Linked DNA regions of Homo sapiens: all the other regions are linked to region 1. The links are contacts of gene promoters, found by promoter capture Hi-C in human tissues and cell types (Jung and others, 2019). All regions are on one chromosome and are shown on one strand. The core of a region is centred on a gene start or on the middle of the fragment in contact, and the rest is flanking DNA. Distances in the headings are between cores, read along the strand shown. Region 1 holds the start of ITFG2 (integrin alpha FG-GAP repeat containing 2). Region 2 has its middle 15 kb from the start of CACNA1C-IT1. Region 3 has its middle 2.7 kb from the start of DCP1B.

What was found. Contacts are between HindIII fragments. The study calls those that stand out against the background at their distance.
Region 2: a contact is called between a fragment that was not itself captured here and the fragment with the promoter of ITFG2 in region 1, in 1 of the 25 tissues and cell types used here (stomach).
Region 3: a fragment that was not itself captured here is called in contact with the fragment with the promoter of ITFG2 in region 1 in 1 of the 25 tissues and cell types used here (hippocampus).

Annotation. Positions count from the first base shown.
Region 1 is chr12:2,810,437-2,813,917 of GRCh38, reverse strand. ITFG2 (integrin alpha FG-GAP repeat containing 2) reads right to left here and starts at 1,250. Exons shown (of 12, transcript NM_018463.4): 1 at 1,062-1,250. The coding sequence starts at 1,157. It overlaps ITFG2-AS1 (ITFG2 antisense RNA 1), which reads left to right and starts at 994. Exons shown (of 4, transcript NR_146317.1): 1 at 994-1,356. RefSeq lists enhancers at 974-1,223, 954-1,703 and a silencer at 1,334-1,423. The HindIII fragment of the contact is 16,489 bases long and covers 1-3,481 here.
Region 2 is chr12:2,030,370-2,033,566 of GRCh38, reverse strand. It overlaps a transcript of CACNA1C not described here. Among named protein-coding and RNA genes, the nearest start is that of CACNA1C-IT1, 15 kb to the right of the region's middle. The HindIII fragment of the contact is 5,670 bases long and covers 1-3,197 here.
Region 3 is chr12:2,005,603-2,008,616 of GRCh38, reverse strand. It overlaps a transcript of CACNA1C not described here. Among named protein-coding and RNA genes, the nearest start is that of DCP1B, 2.7 kb to the right of the region's middle. The HindIII fragment of the contact is 3,124 bases long and covers 1-3,014 here.

The sequences.
Region 1 (3,481 bases), core at 1-2,500:
CATAAAATTGGACTGCTTGGCAGTTCATGAAGAAACACGAAAGCCCAGAAAACATAACACAAATTTATGAGAATAACTCTTTCCTCCCCAGAGAGGGTAGAGCCAAAAAAGGCCTCATAAGATACCTTCTGCATCACAGCACTAGGGGGCGGTGGGAAATAAGTACAGGACAGTTAAGGAACTGTGAAGCAGGGAGGCCGAGTAGGAAGATAGGGCAGAGGGTAGAAGGGGGCAATACAGTGCTTTGCATTAGAACTATGAAATAGATGATAAATGAAAAGATAAAGTCTGCAAAAAAAAGAGCATCAGACACTATTCCCTTTAATGCTCCACCGGAGAATCCTCTCCATACTTTAGTCAATGCATCTCATTACATTTTATTATCCGGTGACTATTACACAGCTTGATTATGAGCTATCTGAGGACTGGAACTCTCTCGTTCATTTTTGAATTCCTAGAATGTAGCAGAGTCCTTGGTGCATAATGAGCAGTTCAGTAAAGATTTGCAGAAAAACAGAATAAAATACTAACACCACCACCACCACCACTAACACTTAAGTGAGCACTAAACTGTGTGCCAGGCATTGTTTTACCTGCTTGACCTGTGGTAATTTATTTAAAAAACGAGAAGGGCTGGGCACGATGGCTCAGGCCTGTAGTCCCAGCACTTTGGGCCAACATGGTGAAACCCCACCTCTACTAAAAACACAAAAATTAGTCGGGCGTGGTGGCGGGCGCCTGTAATCCCAGCCCCTTGGGAGGCTGAGGTAGGAGAATCGCTCGAGCCCGGGAGGCAGAGGTTGCGGTGAGCCGAAATCAAGCCACTGCACTCCAGCCTGGGTGACAGACGGAGCCTGTCTCAAAAAACAAACAAAACCTCCCAAGGAACAAAACCAACCACGAACACTGAAGCTATCAATAAAGTTTTTCTCTCTAGCGCTCCAAACTAGCCACAGCGCGCATGCTCACGCTCACGTGGCACGCTCGGGCGGCCTCTTCCACTTCCCTTGCCCCGTCCCTGCACAGATCCAGGCTGTCTCTTGCGGTGCGCATGCACCTACCGTATCGTTATCAACGTCTCCGAGGCAGATTGCGTGCGGGAAGAGGCTCCCGCTGAACTCCAGCGCCACGCGCTGCACGTAGCTAACTGACCTCATGGCACCTCCAAGAGCAGAGGGAGCGGAGAGGCCCAGTAAATATTCCCTGAACCCCCGTCGCGACAGCCGCCAGAGCGGAAGGCCACCTAAGGCAGCAAGTTACGTCACTGCCTGAACCTCCAATCTCTGCCTCTTCCTCCTTTAACCTTACAGAGGAGGCGGGTCTTCCGGGCTTGGAGGCGGGCTTCCCAACTCTGATGTGAGTGACAGGCCCACGGGCCACTCCTTTTCTCCACAGGGCTGCAGACCGTGGGTAAACCAACCCTGACGGGGGTCGATCTGTTCCCTTGGCAACAGGGCTCCCAAGGGCTTGACCTAATAACCTTGACCTTTTTCCTTTGTTTCCCTGGCAATGAAGATTCCTAGCCATCAGACCATTCCTGAGAATCTTACTAATCTTCGTAATAACTGATAATTGCATGGTTTTGAAAAGTGTTTTTAAAAAACTACCCATTAGGAGTGAAAACAATGTAGTGAGTTGCAATCAGCATATAAAAAATTAAATACAATAGTAATATACCAAGTGACTCCCAGGTAGTAAGGTAAGTACAGTTTTTGTGAAACTCTTGTTTCAATTGTATATACTTATATGTGTATACTGGCTTATAATGTAAAAAAAATTTTTTTTTTCAGTGTATGTGTTTTCTGGTCAATAGTTTAAAAGCCACCTGCTGCAAAGCACATTTCACATATTTCACATAATTAGTTCAGCCACTATGCGAGCTTTTTTTTTTTTTGGCTGAGGAAAACAGGTTCAGCAAGATTAAGTAAAATGGCAGAAGGAAGGATTGTGGGGCGGGGTGCGTGCTCAAACCAGAATTGTTTGATCCCAAACCCTAGGGCCTCTCCATCATTTACTATCATAGTTCGTAGGAGAGTCTTCAGGCTGGAAGTGAAGGTTGCCTGGATTCCGGATCTGCTCTGTCTTGTGGCCCCCCAGCACAAAGCTCTTGCATCTCAACCTCAGTAGCCTTACTCTTGTAGCACAGATGGGACTGTCACTCTCATGGCTGGCTTCTTGGGATACTTTCTTTCCATGTTGAATCCAGTTCTGCCTTTCTTTGGGGTGCCTCGTCAATCAGGGCAATATTTATGAAATCATACAGGTGTTCAATACATTTTTAGATTTAGGTCTAAAAACCCAGGCTGACTCGCACTTGGTGTTTCAAAAAAAAAAAAAAAATGATTCTACCTTATCTGGGATTTTGGACCAGGGGCTGTTCCTTTTTATCTTTTTTTTTTTTATTTTTATTTTTATTTTTTTTTGAGACAGAGTCTCGCTCTGTTGCCCAGGCTGTAGTGCAGTGGCGCAATCTCGGCTCACTGCAACCTCTGCCTCCCAGGTTCAAGCAGTTCTCCTGCCTCAGCCTCCCGAGTAGCTGAGACTACAGGCGAGCGCCACCACGCCCAGCTAATTTTTAATTTAATTTAATTTAATTTTTTTTTTTTTTGAGACGGAGTCTCGCTCTGTCACCCAGGCTGGAGTGCAGTGGTGCGATCTCGGCTCGCTGCAAGCTCCGCCTCCCGGGCTCAAGCCATTCTCCTGCCTCAGCCTCCGGAGTAGCTGGGACTACAAGCGCCCGCTACCACTCAAGGAGAATTTTTTGTATTTTTAGTAGAGACGGCGTTTCACCGTGTTAGCCAGGATGGTCTCGATCTCCTGACCTCGTGATCCACCCGCCTCGGCCTTCCAAAGTGCTGGGATTACAGGCATGAGCCACCGGCGCCCGGCCGCCCAGCTAATTTTTGTACTTTTAGTAGAGACGGGGTTTCACCATGTTGGCCAGAATGGTCTTGATCTCTTGACCTCTTGATCTGCCCGCCTCGGCCTCCCAAAGTGCTGGAATTACAGGCGTGAGCCACTGCGCCCGGCCCCTTTTTTCTTTTTCTTTCTTTTTTTTCTTTGAGAGTCTTGCTCTGGAGTGCAGTGGTGCGATCTGGGCTCATTGCAACCTCCGCCTCCCAGGCTCGAGATCTTGTGTCTCAGCCTCCCAGGTAGGTGGGATTACAAGCGTGAGCCACCATGCCCGGCTTGTCCCTACTTTCTATGTCTGTACATAGTGGGAGGAGGCTGGAGGGCAAGACCTTTTCTTGGGGGAAGGGGGTGGCAGATTTTTTCCTAGATGTCCCAGTGGATCTGACAGCCAGGTAAGAAAGAACAGCAGGTCAGAACAGTAAACTGGAGGAAGTCTGGACAAATACTGGAGACTGCAGATATATTCTGAAGCTGAACTGTGTTACAAGTTCATATTTCTGGTTGTGTACTGTGGGATGGCCAGGTCCATTAAAAGGCACTGGGTCCCACAGGTATTCCTGGTGCTTTG
Region 2 (3,197 bases), core at 471-2,970, 780 kb after region 1:
AAAGCTCTGAACACAATGCCCCCAAGCCCCAAGGACTCTGAGACTCCAGGAGACATATAGCCCAGAGGAGTGGAGATGAAGCTCCATTTTTCAGGAAAGAAGGGACAGTCGGCCTTATGTGTTTTGAAGATGTAAACATAGCCTGGGTTTGGAGAGAAAATGGGATCCATGTCCTGGGTTCCAGGGTGTCGGATGCCAGAGCTGCCCCCTCAGCATCCCAGGATAGACTTGCAGGCCAGGTGGTGGCCGAGCACATGGGCGGACTTGAGCCTGCAGAGGGCGGGCATCATGGGGGCATCTGTGTCAGGGCCAGAAAGAGGACCCAGCTGGACACAGAGACTGGCTTCACTTGTTCTGGGACATCCTGTCCACACCTTCCTCAGGGTTCCTTGTACGTCAAGGAATGGAGAATCAAGCACCTCCCCTCTGGAAGTGGAATGGCCAGCGGAACTCCCCCAGGGTGGGTTAGCTACATCACTGCACCTAACCAGGCACTGCCTGTCAGTGTCATAGGCTCACCTGGCATTTTACTCCACCACCCCCTACCTTCAGTTTAAAACCCTTCTGATCAAACTGGGAAACATTAATTTTTCACAAAGAAGTCCCCTCGAAAGCAAGCACTGGAGGGATGTTTTATAGGGAGAGAGGTTCTCTTTCCTGACTTGTGTTATTATTTCCAGGACCAGCGCTTCAGCGTTGTTAAATCAGGACCTCGTTCTATAAATATTTCTGATTTGAAAAGCCGCATTCATGTTCTCTACTGCAAAATCTAAGCCCGAGATGGCAGCAGCATCTCAGGAATACGGAATATGAAGAAAACACAGCACAGTTGTTAGCTCCAGCTGCTGATGTTCTGAGCTGCCTGTCCATAATTCAGAGGACAAGACAAGGTCACTCATAAACACCACTGAACTGTGTCTCCTTTCACGGGTTCTGCATAAAAATATTGCAGCCCCAATGAACATCAAACAAGTGTAATGGATTGGTTTAATTCACATCCGAACACTCACAAACACAGTGGCCCTAATAACATTCCTGTTTCCAGTGGATTTCCATGCTTGTCAATTATTCTGAAACATCAACTGTCTTAACGTTGACAAACAAGATGCTAACTTGATTTTTTAACAATCCTTTTCAAGAGCAACAGAGTCCATTCTCTATGTGTGCCATCCACAGGCATGGGCTTGAGCCTCCTGGCCGGGTGTGCTAAGTGCCCCTAGGGTACACCCAAAATACGGCAGGTGACAGAGAAATTGATGTTCACTTTAGGGACTGTCCATGGCACTAAGGCTGATGTGAGTTATACTGATATAAGCACTCATATGACACCTAAAACTGGGAAGGAACTCAAGCAGAGATGGATGGGTGTTTGGGACCACAGGAACTCCTCCAAGTTGCTCCCTTAGAGCATGCCCGCCCCCTCCGGTTACCGAGACTGCCGCAAGCCGTGCTCCCACTCACGTGTGAGCCACCCCTCCTCCCTCTACCTTGCAGCATGGGGATGGGAGCTGTGGTTACACTGCTCTTACCCCTTCCAAACACATACACACAGACACACACACACACACACACAAACACACTCACACACACACTCACACAGAAAGAGCAACACATTTGTCTCCAGGGTGGGGAAATAATAAACAAAGGTGACTATTGCATACTCATGAAAAGACACAGCCCACAGCTGCCCTCTCTCTCCTGAGATCCTGCCACTGTTGCTCAGGAGGCCAGTATTCTCGGGGCATCTCAGGAGGATTGAGCAGGACTTGGAGAAAGCCAAAGAAAGCCACTGAGCCATCTACATTCAAAATGGTATCAAAGCATTCCTTACTGTATAGTAAAATCCAACCATGAATTTGATTTGGGATACAGCCTGGGCATCAGAATTTTAAAATCTCCCCAATAACTTTATTTTACATTCAGAACCTTTACTCTAAGGTAAGGGGTAGTAGGATAGGTAGAGAGATAGAGACCCAAGGAGACTGGCTTTCAAGCTTCATGTCCATAGAAAATAAGGATGGAAATAAAAAAGAAACTCATTATCCAATCCTCTTTTGTTCAAACAAAAGACATGGGACAAGGAATGCAGCAGAGGAGACAGGCACGCATTGTCTTCTGGAAGGTTGAGCCTGAAGAACACAGCACAGCCCCCCATTCACCGTGCTGCCACTTGTGTGCCAATGAATCTGGCCTCCCACTTAGTCCAAACTCACTTGGACACCAGAGGGTTTGGAGAAGAGAAGAGTGAACAAGCTCTTGAGTGCCACGAGTTTTGGTTTCTCCGTACTGAGACCACAATGCTGAGAAAGACAAAATCCAGGTTGGACCCCCAAGAGAGTGATTGGACCCTCCAATTCGGATGAGGAGGAGAGGGTCTGCCTGGTAGGCAAGAACCAAGGATGCCCATGGGCACTTAGGCAGCAAGTCTCTGGGTGCCTTTACTACAAAAGAACAAAATCTATTGTCAGCAACTCACATTAGGAAACCACTGAGAGGTCTAGGCTGCTGTCCATCCTTAATTATGGGTAAGTTGAACCTGTAGAGACCTGTCTTGCCTTCTAGCAGCACACACCTGTGAGTTCTTGCCTAACATAGGACAAAGGAGAAGGCAAAGATGTCAGGACAAAGCTTGCCTCTGTCTTATGAACTAAACTCATGGGTAATGTTCCCAACTTGTTGCTGGGTCTCCAGCTTCCACCTGCCTCACCTCAGGTGACTTTTGAGCCTTTCTGCCTCAACTAAGTTCCCTGAGCCCAAGCTCCCTGCTCCTTCAGGCCTGTGGAATGTGGCCTCATGCCTGCCTAACTTTACGGCCCAAGAGGATGCTGGCACCCAGTCCTGACCCCTTCCAGGCATCTCTGCCCTGCTGTGGCCTGTGCCCGGGCTCCAGAAAGATTAGCACAAATAACCCCATCAGCAAGGCAGACACAACTTCACACGCACCTAAGGAACTAGAACACAGGCCCCTGTGTGGACAAAATGCAGCCCCAAGGGCACATCTGAGAGCCGTGGAGCAGCCCACTGCAACATGTGAACCAAGGGGAAGGAAGATGCTACTTCCTCAGCACAGCCCAAATAAAGACAAACCAGGGATTTGGCTCTAAAAATTCATTATTGGCAAAGTAACCTAAGAAGGTCTTGGTTTATGAGAGTAAGGAAATTAAAACAAAAAAAAAAACTATGTTGGGCAAGATTTT
Region 3 (3,014 bases), core at 260-2,759, 810 kb after region 1:
TTTTATAAATCATGAGCTCTTTAAAAAATGCTGACATTTAATGAGTAAATTCAACTAACTCAGGGTTTAGTTCAAAAGAATAAGCATTTATTGAATCTCTATTATGTACAAGGCATTGGACCAAGTGCTAGGGAGACTACGTGGTGATAAGCACATAAAAAATAACATCTCCATCCTGAGCAACGTAGTGAGACCCCATCACTACAAAACATAAAAAGTAACATCTCCATCCTGAGCAACATAGTGAGACCCCATCACTACAAAACATGAAAAATAACATCTCCATCCTGAGCAACGTAGTGAGACCCCATCACTACAAAATATAAAAAACATTGGCCGGGCATGGTGGCACCAGCCTGTGGTCCCAGCTACCTGGGAGGCTGGGGTGGGAGGAGTGCTTGAACCCAGGAGGTCAAGTCTGCAGTGAGCTGTGATTGTGCCACTGCACTCCAGCCTGAGCGACAGAGAAAGACCCTGTCTCAAAAAATAAATAAATAAATAAATAAATAAGTAAAACTTTATGAAACATACTATTTCCTCCTTTTTGCTTATCTGTCAAGAAACTCAAAGCCCAATTTCTTGTTCAATTGCAATAATGTTTTCAGGCTAGATTTTCTATAACAATTCTCTTTTATTACAATGACTGTTTTTTTTTAGAATTGGAAAAAAATGTATATGTAACGTAGTAAATAAATAAGTCTAAGTCAGGATAAAGTGAGCTAAGTGCCACAAGAAAAATCGCAACAGAATGCAATGAGGATTCATAGGCTGAAAGGATTGTATGGGAGAAGACAGGAGGTGAGTTTTCCAGGAAAAGGTCATTCCAAGCTAAGAAGACAGATGGGCAAAGGTACAGAGATAGGAATGTGTAAGATACTTGGGAGAAAAGAGTTCAGATACAAGGAGGTTAGAACAGAAGATGGGTTGTTTCATTAACTCTAAACACACAAAAAATTAACTCTTCTCTACTAAGGGTCATATTAGCATGTTGTTCACATATGTGAAATTTTCCCCGTAAGCAAAGTAAGGGTATCTTCATCTTACTCATCAGTGAGATCAAAGACTGGAGAAGACATGACCATGTAATTTCAGCACAGACACAAGAAGCAATAATAAATCATGAAGAATTAATGAATTTCATCAAGTGAGCACTCCATAAATGCTTTGCAATTGTAGTCATACAGATCACTAAGACTTGTATACACTTTTGTTTTATGAACATTTAAGCTTTTACAATGGCCCCTATATTGCCTGTCTTCTCTAATGAGCTCAAAGCAATTCGTTCTTTGGAGGCCATGATCTATTCTTTACACTTTAAAGATGGAAAGACTGAAAAATTATGAGGACAATGATCTGTGTAAGGATCATGGAACTTAACAGACAAAAGAAAAACAATGCCTCATTATATGTACGAGGGAAATGCAAAGTAGAATCTGTGGGTTCATGCTGAAAAATCAAAATTAGAACAGCTAATCAAGTGAGAGAGTGTGACTAGTTCAAGAATTAATCACAAAATTCTCCATTGCCCATATTACAGATTAAACTTGTTTTTAGAAGCACATATGTGATTAAGAGCAAAGAGGTCAGTAACACTGGAAAAAGGTAGTGAACTAACATGGAAAGTTGTCTAGTCAGCTTTGTGTGGTTGCTCAGTTGCTGCAGCCCTATGTTTTTCAAACTACAGGTCACAATCCATTAGTTGGTCATGAAACCAATTTACAAAGTCACAAATAGCATTTTAAAAAATGTCTGTATACTTAGTATTGAAACATTTATTCTAGTTAATATCAGGTATAAATATATAAACATATGTTCTCAGTCAGACTGCAAATGACCCCAGCCTCAGTCAAAAAAAAGTTGTTTGAAAGCCATTGCTGTATTCTTCCCCACTGGGAAGTTAGGCTTGGGAGTCAATAGGACTGAGACTCCAAAATGCAGCTTAACCAAGAATTTCAGTACAATTGAAATTGTGACTGCAAAGATTATATTGCAACATATTATTATGAGAGGGTATGTGTGCCGTATCTATGATATTTCTATATCAAATAGGTAAGAATTTATGAATGTGAGTAGTAATGTCTGCACAGTTGTTCTAATATTTAATGCTAGATAAATGGTTTAGATCAACCATTCTCAACTTTTTAGTCTCAAGACTCCTTTACACTCTTAAAAATTATTTTTTTAATTACTTTTTATTTATTTTATTTTTGAGATGGAGTCTCGCTCTATCACCCAGGCTGGAGTGCAGTGGCAGGATCTCGGCTCACTGCAACCTCTGCCTCCCGGGTTCAAGCGATTCTCCTGCCTCAGCCTCCCGAGTATCCGGGATTACAGGTACCTGCCACCACTCCTGGCTAATTTTTGTATTTTTAGTAGAGACGGGGTTTCACCATGTTGGCCAGGCTGGTCTTGAACTACTGACCTTGTGATCCGCCCGCCTCAGCCTCCCAAAGTGCTGGGATTACAGGCAGGAGCCACCGCACCTGGCCCACTCTTAAAAATTATTAAGGACTCCCTCAGAGAACTTTTGTTTATGTGAGTTATACCCACCTATATTTACCATATTGGAAATTAAAAATAACTTTAAAGACCCCGGGCTATGTGTGTTTTGTTTGGAGTATATGAAGAAACTCTGGCCTCATATGTAGATAATGTAGTTGGAAAAGAGATGGATATTTTAATAGAGTTTTTCAGACAATTGTGGATATTCTTCTTGGATAATATACCAAAACTTGACAAGCTGGAGTTTCTCAAAGCTTAGCTGCAATGTACTATCTGAAATCCTATTAACTTTTCATACTGTTACATTAAAAATCCATTAGTCCACCTTGTCCTTGAATGGATCTTTTGCCTGTGCATGATTATGTAGCATGAGACATTGGTCTTTTGGAAAATACTGGACCACTGAGTTAAGCAGATCTTTGAGATATTGACACTTTCCATTATACAAGATTTGTTAAAATTGCGCTCATTAATATCATCACTGATCTCATCAGAAAAAAAAACATTAAGTA